3 separate regions of the Homo sapiens genome follow, and all the other regions are linked to region 1. The links are contacts of gene promoters, found by promoter capture Hi-C in blood cells and fetal thymus (Javierre and others, 2016). All regions are on one chromosome and are shown on one strand. The core of a region is centred on a gene start or on the middle of the fragment in contact, and the rest is flanking DNA. Distances in the headings are between cores, read along the strand shown.

The links. The method cuts DNA at HindIII sites, captures the fragments that hold promoters and counts their contacts. A CHiCAGO score of 5 or more calls a contact.
Region 2: a fragment that was not itself captured here is called in contact with the fragment with the promoter of MXD1 in region 1 in 10 of 17 cell types (monocytes, naive CD4 T cells, neutrophils and 7 more); the score reaches 11.9 in monocytes.
Region 3: a contact is called between a fragment that was not itself captured here and the fragment with the promoter of MXD1 in region 1, in 15 of 17 cell types (non-activated CD4 T cells, naive CD4 T cells, naive CD8 T cells and 12 more). The highest score is 12.5, in non-activated CD4 T cells.

The regions. Positions count from the first base shown.
Region 1 is chr2:69,913,785-69,916,484 of GRCh38, reverse strand. It overlaps MXD1 (MAX dimerization protein 1), which reads right to left and starts at 1,376. Exons shown (of 6, transcript NM_002357.4): 1 at 1,082-1,376; 2 at 265-364. The coding sequence starts at 1,154. RefSeq lists a silencer at 773-1,002 and enhancers at 1,653-1,852, 1,953-2,062, 1,545-2,150, 2,163-2,212. The HindIII fragment of the contact is 7,248 bases long and covers 1-2,700 here.
Region 2 is chr2:70,125,894-70,128,593 of GRCh38, reverse strand. No RefSeq gene overlaps it. Among named protein-coding and RNA genes, the nearest start is that of LINC01816, 1.9 kb to the right of the region's middle. The HindIII fragment of the contact is 2,621 bases long and covers 1-2,583 here.
Region 3 is chr2:70,165,764-70,168,463 of GRCh38, reverse strand. All of the region lies in intron 6 of C2orf42 (chromosome 2 open reading frame 42), which reads left to right. Among named protein-coding and RNA genes, the nearest start is that of C2orf42, 24 kb to the left of the region's middle. The HindIII fragment of the contact is 4,037 bases long and covers 1-2,700 here.

The sequences.
Region 1 (2,700 bases), core at 127-2,626:
TGTTCCAAAAGGGAAGAAAAGTGAAATTAAATTTTGAATAAAGTTCATAAAGAAATGTAAAACATTTCTATTTTTCTTTTCAGTTCCCTCAACCCAAACAGAAACAGCTTCCTGCAATGGCTTAAGTCCATGTGTACATTACTGAATCATGACGGCCACAATGTAATTTTATAGGGTTATAATCACAACAGAAAACTTACATTCAGCAGTTTGTGTCACCTACAATATAATCTAAAAGACAGAAAGAAGTATTTACCAAATTACCTGCTACTGCTGTTATTCTTTTTGGATTTGTTCCTCCGTTTTAAGGCATCTCTGTCCTTGTTATTGTATGGTAACATGGAGGCATAACCATGTTCAGCTTCTAGAAAACAGGAGGATCCAGTTAATGAATGGGCCCAGAATATTTAATGCTCTCTCCTCTCTACAGTATTTCCTTTTTCCTTTATTTATCTTTAAAAGAATATTGTGGAAATAATTAAATGGAGTAAGGTGGAATTCTGAGAACAATGATTTAAAAAAAAATTGTGTGAATATCGTCAATTCGGAGCAGGTGTAAGGAGGATTCCAGCTGCTCATTGTTGAGAAAGACACAGTAGTGGCTAGGCTCACGCAGCCTGGGTTTCCCACTGGCTACATCCAGCAGGTTGGTGCGGGTTAAGTGGAACCAGCTCAGGCGAAGGTGCGGGGCAAGCACCGTGAGCCGGGGACCGGGAGGCGCTGCTCCTCTGCCCAGGAGACTGGGGCGCCGGGCCCACCTGGGGGCCGGCCGGGACCAGCCCGGGTGAGGTAAACCAGGGAGGCTATCGGAGGGGGCCCCGGCCACCCACTCGTGAAGGGCTGGGGAAGGGGCGGCGTTCGGGACCCCGGCGGGCGGCAGCCCCTTCTCCACCCCATTCATTGCTTTGGGGCAGCGGCGGCTTCCCTTCGGACCGCGCGTGGGGAGAGCCAGAGGGGTTGGGAGCGCTCGCGGTCTCCCCGCCTCCAACCACCCCCGGAGCGGCTGGGCGCCCGGACCTGAGGCCGGCCCCACAGGACCCCCGGCCTCGTTTCGAGTGGACCCCTCCCCGTCCCCGTGCACCTCTCTCCCGCCGCTCCAGATAGTCGGCCGCCTCCAGCAGCATCTGGATGTTCATCCGAACCGCCGCCGCCATTCTGCACCGGGGGCCGGAGCCACGGGACCAACCCCCACTGCCCACGGGCTCGCTGCCGCCGCCGGACCGCTGTGGAGCCCGCTATGGAGCCCGCTGTGGAGCCCGCTGTGGACCCCGCGGAGCAGGGCTGAGGGAGCCTCTCTGGCAACCACGCTCGACAAGAGAGGGAGGGGGCCAGTGAGCTGGGCACCGCCGACACAGTGACAGAACCCGGAGCAGAGCAGCAGCCGCCACCGCCGCGGAGTGTTTATCCCCGACTCACCATCTCCCCGCCCCCAGCCCCTTCTCTTGACAGGCCAGCTTCGGCCGCGTTCCTCATTGGGCCCCCCAAAGAATGCCCCGCCCCTACACTTGTGCGATTGGGAGAGGGCTTCAGGGCTCCACCCCGCAAAGTCCGCTCCTCTCGCTGGTTGGTCACACTTGACAAGGCCCGGGCTCCACCCCCTCTTTCCAACTGGTGACAGGATTCGCAACTCCGCCTCGTGCTCCTTCCTTGTTTCCCATTGGTTCTATACCAACAACCCGGGCCCCCTTTTGCTTTGTTAGTATTGGCCAAGAGCTGCAGAAGGCAAGCACCTCGCCGGTCTCCCATTGGTGAAGCCTTCGGAAACCTCCCAGCTACGATGATGTCACCTTTCTCCAGGCCAGGCGAGCCCTAAGTGGCTGATGGTCAGCAGCCTGGCTGCTCCTCACCGGGTCTGGCATTGGCTGGGAGGGCCGGTCCGGCGCTGGGCGGCGCTGATTCACCAGCCGCTGCGGAGCTCTGCTCCACCCGGCCTTGCCTCGGACCTGTTGCCAAGACCTGTCCCCGGGGAAAACTTCCGGGGACCTGCCAGGCGTCCATCGAATGGAAGGCTGGCACCTCGTGTCGCCTGGGCGCTCTGCCCCGCTTGGGTTCGGGGCCGGAGCCCTCGGTCTGGTGGCCGCGGCCCTGGAGGTTCTGGGCTTCGCGGAACTCGGGCTGGCGAGGGCCCAGCCTCGAATCCTCCCGAAGAGCGGTGCAGGCTAGTGGCCGGTGAGCCGGGAGCTAGGGCAGGCGCCACGTGGCTGCTGCGGGGCTTGAGAAGAAAAGCCGGCCGTTGTTAAATGCTCGCCGCTCGGCGTTTTTTCTGCCCTCAAGAAAGAGCTGGAATCGGGCTGCAGTATACAGCATTGAGCTCATGCGCCTTTTCCGCACCCCCCTCCACCCCCGGGAAGTGATGGAATAATTAATTACTTTCACGCGAGCGGCTTTTTAAAGCTCAGAGACTTCCTGAACCTACAGAATGGCATTAAACCCTAAGATTCTTTGCTTAAATCTCTTTTGGGGTTTTCCCCTCCCTTTTAATTCTAGATGAAAACACTCACAAGATTATTGTTTTTGTTTGTTTGTTTTGAAAGGGAGTTTTGCTCTTGTCGCCCAGGCTGGAGTGCAATGGCGCGATCTCGGCTCACTGCAACCTCCTTCTCCCGGGTTCAAGCGATTCTCCTGCCTCAACCTTCTGAGTAGCTGGGATTACAGGTGCCCACCACCACGCCCGGCTAATTTTTGTATTTTTAGTAGAGA
Region 2 (2,700 bases), core at 24-2,523, 210 kb before region 1:
TCCTGGGCATCTGTGAGGGCCTGCACTGACCTCTGAAGTATCTCCATGTCCAAGGGAGTACAACAATAAATAGTAAATAAAAACATCATGACAGGTTGAGAGAGAGACTGTAGAAAAAATGAAAGGGCTTTTTTCATCCTTTTATGAGAAAGGGGCCCATATTTTCATTTTCCCCTGGGCCCCAAAAATTATGTAGCCAATCCTGCTGGCAGATAAAACATTCCTGAAGGAGGTAGCCAGAAGCCTAATAATATTCTGGGGGTATTGTGGCTTAAGTATGTCAGCCCTGTCCAAATGTAGAACAATGCTGGGGGCTATTTCAAGCCACGTGAAATGTCAACACCTGTGGTAAAGGACTATTAGCAAAGCTAATGTGCAGAGTCTGCACACATGACAAGAAAAAAGTCAACTTGCTAGGAGGGGTTTGTTGGCTGTTTAGCTTTATCTGGACAAGGGAAAAAGTGGGTAGAAAAGGCTCTCTGGCTAGTTCCTCCTTGAAGCAAGAACTCAGCTTGTTTCTCTGGATAGTCTGTGGTCAGATATAACAATGGAAACTTCAGGAAATCTTTATTTAAAAAGAGAAGGTATCTCCCCACACCTTCTTCAATATTAGGTGCCACCAAATTCTGGCTGTTGATCTGTTACTCAACAACAACAAAAAATGTCTTTTGTTTATTTTTATGTCTGATTCCAAGGAGAGTTGAACTTATTTAAAGTGGGTCTTTAAAAAAAATCACTTCAGATGTTTGTTTCTTTTGAATTTTCCATTGGTATTCATTTTCTTATTTATTTGCAAGCACTTCCTACATAGCAAGAATAACAACATTTTGTTTTCATGTGTGTTGCAAATAGGTTTTCCCAGTTTGCCTATTGTTTTTTAACCTTGCCCGTTTGGAATAGCTTCAAGCCACATCATCTGATGGGAATGGAGGTCACCCTAACAGTGATACTGCAATGTCACTAATTCAATAACCACCAAATTTACTGCTAATAATCGCCAACATTTACTGAACATGCACCATATGCTTCATGTGCCATTAATCCACAAAATTACCCTATAAAGTAGGTACTATTTTTAGTTTCATTTTGTAGATGAAGAAACAGAAATAGGAGAGGCTAAGTAATGTGCCTAGTTACCCAGCCTAGTAAGGGATGGAATGTGGGGCTTGAACCCAGCCCTGACTCCTAAGTCCAGTTTCCAACCCTGCACTGTCCAATACAGTGACCGCAGGTAGCTATAGAGCACTTCACATGTAGCCAGCCTGATTTCAGAGACCAAGTGTAAAAAAAAGAATGTCAGATATCTCATTATTAAAAAATTTTTTTTTCAACAGGGTCTTGCTTTGTCACCCAGGCTGGAGTGCACTAGTGTGAACACAGCTCACTGCAGCCTCAACTTCCTGGGCTCAAACGATCCTCCCACCTCAGCCTTCTGAGTAGCTGGAATCACAGGTGTGTGCCACCATGCCCAGCCTCTCATTATTAATTTAAAAATTGGCCAGGTGTGATGGCTTACGCCTGTAATCTCAGCACTTTGGGAGGCTGAGGCAGGCAGATCACCTGAGGTCAAGAGTTTTGAGACCATCCTGACCAACAAGGTGAAACTCTGTCTCTACTAAAAATACAAAAATTAGCCGGGCATGATGGCATGCCTGTAATCCCAGCCACCCGGAAGGCTGAGGCAGGAGAATCGCTTGAACCCAGGAGGCTGCAGTGAGCCAAGATCGCACCACTGCACACCAGCCTGGGCAACAGAGCAAGACTCCATCTCAAAAAAAAAAAAAAAAGTGCCTACTGAAAAATTGTTAACATGATTCTGTTTACATTTCTGTTGACAGCATCTTCTATCCACTTTCCTACATAATCATCCTTCACTTGGGTGAAGACAGTCTGTGTGATCACCTGAGTCTTCTCTTCTCTAGTTATATCAAAAGGCTTGCGCCTTTTAAATCTGTTGATAAACTGAAACCTCCTTGCTTCCTGGTTTTCTTACATGAATTGAGATCATCCCAGGACCTCACTGTCTTGAACAAGCTCAGTTCTCTCCACTCTTCCTCACAGATGATTTCTCATAGGACCAAATTTTGTCATCCTTGTTGTCCACATCTCAATATTCTCCAGGTTATGGCTATCTCTATCCCTCTTGCCCTCCAAAATGAGACCACAGGCGGGGCACAGTGGCTCATGCTTGTAATCCCAACACTTTGGGAAGCCAAGGCAGGCAGATTCCTTGAGCCCAGAAGTTGGACACCAGCCTGGGCAATGAAGTGAAACCCCTTCTCTACCAAAAAAAAAAAAGAAAGAAAGAAAAGAAAATAAATTTTTAAAAAAGGGGAGACAATCCTCCAGAGAACCGTTGCAGATGTCCCAGAAAGGTGATGCTCCCAAGTGCACAGGGACAGAAAGTAGAATGGTGGTTGCCAGGAGCTGGGTAGAGGGGAATGAGGGAGTTGTTTCACGGGTACAGAGTTTCAGTTTAGGATGATGGAAGAGTTCTAGAGATGGATGATGGTGGTGAGTGCACAACCACGTGACTATTTAGTGCCACTAAACTGTACACTTAAAAATTGATTAAAATAAGCTTTATGTTGTGTACATATTACCACAAATACAATAAAAGAAATGAAGTTCTCATACGTGCTGCAGCAGGGATGAACCTTGAAAAGATTATGCTAAGTGGCCGGGCATGGTGGCTCACAC
Region 3 (2,700 bases), core at 6-2,505, 250 kb before region 1:
ACAAAAAAATTAGCCAGGTGTGGTGGCGGGTGCCTGTAGTCCCAGCTACTCGGGAGGCTGAGGCAGGAGAATGGCGTGAACCCAGGAGGTGGAGCTTACAGTGATCTGAGATTGCACCACTGCACTCCAGCCTGGGTGACTAAGTGAGACTCCATCTCAAAAAAAAAAAAAAAGGATCCTATAGCTGGGCATGGTGGCAGAGGCCTGTAGTCCCAACTACTCAGGAGGCTGAGGTAGGTGAATCACTTGTCGCCCAGGCTGGAGTGCAGTGGCGTGATCTTGGCTCACTGTAATCTCCACCTCCCAGGTTCAAGCAATTCTCCTGCCTCAGCCTCCCAAGTAGCTGGGATTACAGGCACGCACCACCATGCCTGGCCAATTTTTTGTATTTTTAGTAGAGATGGGGTTTCACCATGTTAACCAGGCTGGTCTTGAACTCCTGACCTCAGGTGATCCACCTACCTCGGCCTCCCAAAGTGCTGGGATTACAGGCGTGAACCACCGTGCCCAGCCCAGAAAACAGAATATTGATAATACTATAAGCTAAACACTTGTAGTCCTCTTCCATCCCATCCTATTCCCTCTTCCATCCCATTCCTGTACCACCCTCTATTCCATCTTACCATCTCCATTACTACCACCTTTGTCCAGGTTTCCATCAGCTCGCTCCTTGACTATGAGTGTGTGTGTTTTACCTTTTTGAAGTTAATTCTTTTTTATTTTTTGAGACAGTCTTGCTCTGTCACACAGGCTGGAGTGCAGTGGTACAATCTCAGTTCACTGCAACCTCCACCTCCCAGGCTCAAGAAATTCTCGTGTTTCAGCCTCCTGAGTAGCTGGGATTATAGGCATGTGTCACCACTCCTGGCTAATTTTTGTATTTTTAATAGAGACAGGGTTTCACCATGTTGGCCAGGCTGGTCTCGAACTTCTGACCTCAAGTGATCCGCCTGCCTAGGCCTCCCAAAGTGTTGGAATTACAGGTGTGAGCCACCACACCTGGTCTGGACAGAATTTTTAAGAAAGACTGAACTCACTTGACCCCCTCCCCTTAACTCTTTTTGTTGACCTAATGTCTGACAAGTTTCTTTTCTTTTTTTTTTTTTGAGACAGAGTCTCACTCTGTCGCCCAGGCTGGAGTGCAGTGGCGTGATCTTGGCTCACTGCAACCTCCGCCTCCCAGGTTCAGGCGATTCTCCTGCCTCAGCCTCCCAAGTAGCTGGGACTACAGGCGCATGCCACCATGCCCGGCTAATTTTTTGTATTTTTAGTAGAGATGGAGTTTCACCATGTTAGCCAGGATGGTCTCAATTTCCTGACCTGGTGATCCACCTGCCTCATCCTCCCAAAGGGCTGGGATTACAGGTGTGAGCCACTGTGCCTGGCCGCAAGGTTCTTTAAGAGGTTGGTTAAGTACTTTCAAGTATTTTACCTGCCTTGAGGTCATATTCAGAGAGAAAGACAGATGCTTGCTGGGTAAGCAGTGTCCTAACTTGTAGTCCCTCAGCATTCATGGTGCTGACCATCGGGTGAGAGAGCATGTCATTAGTTTGCTTAGACATGAATGCAAATAGCAAGAACCTGGGGATAGCGAGCAAAAGGGAATCAAGTGGAGGCAGCCACCTCGGCCTCATTGTTCTCATCCCATCTTACTTCGCATACCCTTTAAGGGGGAAAGTCTGTGCTGTGTTGGTCTTTTTAAAATTTGCGGATTTGAAATGTTATACTTGGTGGATGACAAGGGTCTACTGTGTTGGTTTGTTTTTTCATTGTCTTTTTTCTTTTTTTTCAGTGGAGTCTCACCCTGTTGCCCAAGCTAGAGTGCAGTGGCATGATCTCGGCTCACTGCAACCTCTGCCTCCTGGGTTCAAGCGATTCTCCTGCCTCAGCTTCCTGAGTAGCTGGAATTACAGGCACACACCACCATGCCCAGCTAATTTTTTTTTTTTTTTTTTTTTTTAGTAGAGATGGGTTTTCACCATGTTGGCCAAGCTGGTCTCGAACTCCTGACCTCAGGTAATCCACCCACCTCGGCCTCCCAAAGTGCTGGGATTACAGGTGTGAGTCACCACGCCTGGCCTCTCTTTTCTTTTCTTTTTTTTTCCTTTTTGAGGGAGGGTCTCACTCTGTTGCCCAGGCTGGAGTGCAGTGGCGTGATCATGGCTTACTGCAGCCTCAACCTCCTCGACTCAGTTGATCCTCCCACCTCAGCCTCCCAAGTAGCTGGGACAGCAGGTGCATACCACCACGCCTGGCTAATTTAAAAAAAAATTTTGGCCAGGCACGGTGGCTCACGCCTGTAATCCCAGCACTTTGGGTGGCCGAGGTGGGTGGATCACGAGGTCAGGAGTTTGAGACCAGCCTGGCCAACATGGTGAAACCCCATCTCTACTAAAAATACAAAAATTAGCCAGGCGTGGTGGTGCACGCCTGTAGTCACAGCTACTCAGGAGGCTGAGGCAGGAGGATTGCTTGAACCCGGGAGGCAGAGGTTGCAGTGAGCCGAGATCATGCCATTGCACTCCAGCCTGGGCAACAGAGTGAGACTCCATCTCAAAAAAAAAATTTTTTTTTATAGACACTGGGTCTTTCTTTGTTGCCCAGGCTACACTGTGTTTTTTATGTTTGCAAGGGATCAACAGTAGGACTAGTGACAGTTCTTGGCCCAGAAAGGTCAATCAAAGCCTTCTTTTTGCCTCT